Regions from separate parts of the Homo sapiens genome. Here region 2 is linked to region 1. Evidence: promoter capture Hi-C in human tissues and cell types (Jung and others, 2019). All regions are on one chromosome and are shown on one strand. Each heading gives the region's core, a stretch centred on a gene start or on the middle of the fragment in contact. The rest is flanking DNA. Distances are from core to core; before and after follow the strand shown.

Region 1 (2,613 bases), core at 62-2,561:
TTTTACCACAAAGAAAATATTAAGGAATCCATTTTATAAAGGTAACTACACTTCAAAAATAGTTTACATATAGACATAACTTTTTTCTTTTTTTTTTTTTTAAGTAAAGCAGGGGAAAAATTGTTTTAGTGGTGACCAAAGGTTTTAAAATACCTGGGGCTATGTCTGGATACCAGGTTTATTCAACAATCTAGCACTTTGCAGTGTAAACTAACCTTGGTCAACAACGAGAACTGGTATTATGATCTCAGTTCATACCACATAATGAATACAAGTCTCTCCCCTCATCTCCCCAGTGTTCCAATCCACCCCTCTTCCTAGGTAACCCTTCTTCCTACCAATTCTCATCCTTTGTCAGTCTTCTTCCTACCCATCCTTTTCCATTTTTGTACCTCGAAGTGTAGGGTGAGTCACTAAACACCACATCACACCCCCTCAAACACTTGCTCACTCACAACGTCTTCCAAATGCCAAACAGATCCTTTTCTCCTCTCTCCCCTCCCTTGCCAGAGCCACTTGCTGTTCTGTTTCCGGTCTATTTCCAGGGGAGGGGGGCAGACTGCAGATAGACATGGGTACTTGCTTCATTTTGCCAAAAAAAGAAAGAAAGAAAAAGTACTAGCTAGCACTTGTCCAACTAAATTGCAGAGGAACTAGCTGTCAAGGAGCTCACCGCAAATCCCTATGGATTTGAAAATCTCTTTAACCTGACTCTCCCATTCGGTCCCTAATAAATAAATAAATAAATAATCTTAGGATGGGAAAATCAGGGACAAAGATGTCTGGATCTGAGAGGTCGCGGGGTGGTTTCGTGAAAAGCAGTGGTGCACCAAGAAGAGGCTGGAGAGGACGGACAGAGCAGCTGCTCCAGGGCCCTTCCTGGCGGGCCGGACAGAGTTGGAGACAGGGGAGAGGGGGGCCCCTGCTGGACACAGGCTGAAGGGGGCCCAGGAGGTTGGGGTTAAAAGGGAAGGGTGAGCTTGGGGTGAGGAAGCGGCAGACTAACGGCGGCCCCGGACCACCACTGGGGAGACGACTGCGGCAAGGCGGGAATAGGGACAGCCGGGCCGGGAAGGGGAGGTTCGGCGGGAGCCGGGGGAGAGGAGGCCCGGGCCGCGCGCCCACCTGAGAGTAGGAGCACTTCTCGGAGTCGCTGCCGCCCAGGACAGCGCACGCCTCATTCTCCAGCTCCTCGTCCTCCTCAAGGACGTCGACCAACGATACCACGGGCTCCAGCTCCGACTGCCGCCCAGCGGCGCCCTCGGCTCCGGCCATCCTCAACTGTCAGCCGAACAGCGGCTCGGCCCCGGCGGAGGCGGGAAAAGCGGCCGTGAGGGGCGTAGCCGGAGGAGGTGGGGCCCGAGTGCCAGGAACCAATGACAAGGAAAAAAAGCGAAGGAAGGGGGAGGAGCGACTTCCGACAAACGGATGTCACTCCTCTCCCTTCTCCCGCCTGCGCCGGACGCGGGCTGATTTCCGCCTCCGGGTGGCGCTTCCCGGTGTCGTGTTCTGGAAGCTTAGCGGTCACCATGGAGCTGCTGGGAGAGTACGTCGGGCAGGAAGGGAAGCCGCAGAAGCTGCGGGTGTCCTGTGAGGCGCCGGGTGACGGCGACCCTTTCCAGGGCCTGTTGTCTGGCGTGGCCCAGATGAAGGACATGGTAACGGAATTATTCGACCCTCTGGTACAGGGGGAAGTGCAGCACCGGGTGGCGGCGGCTCCAGACGAGGACTTGGACGGTGAGCTCTGAGACGGTGCTGCAGTGACCGGAGGACGGGGCGGGCGCCCAGGGGAAATTGGCTTGGGGAGCCCGTGTAGAGTGGCAGACTTGGACAAAGTGAGCCTCGAGGAAAGAAGAATTGCATCTAAAAATTTTTGGCGGGCTAGGCGAAGTGGGGCTCACGCCTGTAATCCCAGCACTTTGGGAGGGCGAGGCAGGAGGATCACTTGAGGTCAGGAGTTCCAGAACAGCCAGGGCAACATATCGAGACCCCGTTTCTATTATTATTTTTAAAATAATTTAAAAAATAAAAATTGTTGGCATTTATCACTATATTTATTTGGGCTGCTTCTACTCAAGCGTTTCCACAACTCATCGCTATTTCGTTTATTTCACAAAAAAACGTGTCGAATGCCTACTATTATGTGCCAAACCCTGAGCTGAGCCCTGGAGGAAGAATGAGGTGAATGCGACTCAGTTCCTGCCCTTGTGAAACACAAGGGGACTAGACAGGCAGACACTCTTATTAAAAGTGGAAGTGGTCCGGGCTGGTGGCTCACGCCTGTAATCCCTGCACTTTGGGAGACCGAGGCAGGCAGATCACGAGGTCAGGAGTTCGAGACAAGCCTGGCCAATATGGTGAAACCCTGTCTCTACTAAAAATACAAAAATTAGCTGGGCGTGGTGGCATGCTCCTGTAGTCCCAGCTACTCTACTCGGGAGGCTGAGGCAGAAGAATCGCTTGAACCCTGGAGGCAGAGGGTGCAGTGAGCCGAGATCGCGCCACTGCACTCTATCGTGGGCGACAGAGCGAGACTCCGTCTCAAAAAAAAAGAAAAAAAAAGTGAAAGTGGTTCTGTGGTCCTCTGTAACTGTTGCAAACCCAGACACCCTA
Region 2 (2,613 bases), core at 39-2,538, 50 kb before region 1:
TGGCCAACATGGTGAAACCCCATCTCTACTAAAAATAGAAAAATTAGCTGCGTGTGGTGGCGGGTGCCTATAATCCCAGCTACTTGGGAGGCTGAGGCAGGAGAATCGCTTGAACCCAGGAGGTGGAGGTTGCAGTGAGCCAAGATCATGCCACTGCACTCTAGCCTGGGCAACACAGCAAGACTCCATCTTAAAAAATAATAATAAAAAAATAAATAAAAGGTAGTTTCCACACTGGGTTAGTGGAAGGTTCTTCTGCAAGGATAAGAAGGAAGCTAAGTGAACCAGGCCATAGCTTTGTTTCAGTCAGTTTTATACAGGAGGATTCTGCACTTACCTGTCACATATTTGGGGGTTTCATGTAAGATTTTATATGAAAACAGGATGTCACTACTTTAAGAAAAAAAAATATTTTGAAAAGCAGAATGCCTTAAATAAGTATGAAGCTAAATCATAGCTAGGCAAGGGGGAAAAAAATGACTCTTTTCTACACAGTTAACAATTTTATTCTGAATGAATCCAGAAAAAAACTTAGCTTCTCAAAAACAATCAATTCTCTCTCTCTCTCTCTCATACACACACACACACACACACGATTTAAGGAAGATACCAGTTTTCCTGTAGAATATTTGAAAAAAATCCAGCATTTCATGAATAATAAGATCTTATTCTGTGTTAATTTTTTTAAGAAAAAAATTACAGACCCCTAGATTAAAGCCATGATTAAAGATTTCCAAATTACATAATTTTTCTTCCCACCTCAATAGCATAAGCATACATGTATTTCAGATTGTTGTTCACTAATGCCCAATGAAGAAATCATTCTCTGCCTTGGATGATGGACATATATTACATGTCAAAGATCAAAGGGTCTACTTTTATGCAGTAATGTTCCCATATTATGGAAATTTGGGAGATTTTCATAAAAATCTTAAAACCAAATAAAGCACATTATGCTTTGCTGCTTCAAACACCAAGTGATTAACATGTTGTTAAATTACTGTTACACATATGTAGGCTAATGAGCATACTGATAACTTACAGTGACCAGAAATGGCATATGCTCTACAATGACCTTATACTACTAAACACTGGTCACAAAAGTGAGAAGGCTTTTTAAAAAGCCCTTGATAAAACTAGATTTTAGTAGATTGTCATCTTTTCTCTTTTGAGTTAGTCTATAGAAAGGAATCCTTTATTCTTTATTGCAGAGCAGTGATAAAATAATTTTATTGTACTGTTGATACCATGCTTTTTCTTTATCCAAGAACATCCCTATTAAACAAACATGAAAGAAAATAATTGATTTATAACCCTTTTTAAAGCAGAGGCACATAAGTCTATAGAGTGGTACTGTTAGTGTATGTACTAGAGAACAAAGGAAACCTGTCTCAGAACATTTGGATTTGGTTGGAAACTTTTCATTTTCTGTCTCATAGAGCCAAACTTACTGAGTGGCACTGCCCATAGTGTGAACAAAAGAGGTGTAAAAAGACGGGACCTGGACATGGAAGAGCTCAGAGAGATCCTTTCTTCTCTCTTACCTTTTGTGCGAATTGAACACATCTTACCTATAAACAGTGAAGTCTTAAGTGATGCAGTAAGTGTTTTTCTCCATGTATTCCTTTCATGAAAAGAAAAATGCCAGGTGTATGTTTTTATTCATTGTAAATAATTTCTGCTACTAATAGAGTATTGTGAAGCTGTAATTCTGTGAGGACAGAGACAGATGTCTATTGTGTACGATGTTGTATCTCCTGTGTCTTCCACATAATACAGTTAAAATGTTCAGTGAATGAGAGTTGAGTGGGTAAATAGGTCTTACTCATGCAAGAGCATTATTTCTAGCAGAGTTAATTCTGTCATTTAAGTGTAGATCAAGTAGACCCTTATTCAAAAAGGGAAAGGTAGAAATTACCTTTGAAGAGTCTTCAAGAACAGCAGTGAATCAGAGAGTAGTGGAGTGGAGGGATTGGTTGAATAGAAAAAGAATGGATGGACCTGAAAATTAATAGAGCTCATCTTGTTACTTTCATAATTTTTTAAACAGTGAATTTTTTAAAAATTAATATAATTGGCTGGGCGCGGTGGCTCACTCCTGTAATCCCAGCACTTTGGGACGCCAAGGCAGGTGGATCACCTGAGGTCAGGAGTTTGAGACCAGCCTGGCCAACATGGTAGAACCCCATCTCTACTAAACATACAAAAATTAGCCAGGCGTGGTGGTGCATGCCTATAATCCCAGCTACTCGGGAGGCTGAGGCAGGGGAATTGCTTGAACTGGGGAGGTGGAGGTTGCAGTGAGCCGAGATCGAGCCATTGCACTCCAGCCTGGGTGACAGAGCGAGACTCCATCTCAAAAAAAAAAAAATTAATAGAATTGCTTGAATTCATGGATGGGAAAAATAAATATTATAAATATTAGTTCTTCACACATTGACTTATAAACTTAATATAATGCTTATAAACATCATAATATGTTTTTTCTAACTGCACAGGAACATTATAAAACATTATAAAAGTCTTCTGGAAAAAAAACAAAACATAATAATAAACGAACTATCACAAGTCAATGTGGTGCTAGATTAACTGATTAGCAGAAGAAGAAATTTA

Evidence for each region. The method cuts DNA at HindIII sites, captures the fragments that hold promoters and counts their contacts. A contact is called where the count stands out against the background at its distance.
Region 2: a contact is called between a fragment that was not itself captured here and the fragment with the promoter of UBR7 in region 1, in 1 of the 25 tissues and cell types used here (hippocampus).

What each region holds. Positions count from the first base shown.
Region 1 is chr14:93,205,954-93,208,566 of GRCh38, reverse strand. It overlaps UBR7 (ubiquitin protein ligase E3 component n-recognin 7), which reads right to left and starts at 1,311. Exons shown (of 11, transcript NM_175748.4): 1 at 1,126-1,311. The coding sequence starts at 1,275. GON7 (GON7 subunit of KEOPS complex) reads left to right here and starts at 1,502. Exons shown (of 2, transcript NM_032490.5): 1 at 1,502-1,737. The coding sequence starts at 1,530. RefSeq lists an enhancer at 1,406-2,265. The HindIII fragment of the contact is 21,573 bases long and covers 1-2,613 here.
Region 2 is chr14:93,256,182-93,258,794 of GRCh38, reverse strand. It overlaps BTBD7 (BTB domain containing 7), which reads left to right. Exons shown (of 11, transcript NM_001002860.4): 6 at 1,440-1,600. Among named protein-coding and RNA genes, the nearest start is that of UBR7, 50 kb to the right of the region's middle. The HindIII fragment of the contact is 3,260 bases long and covers 1-2,613 here.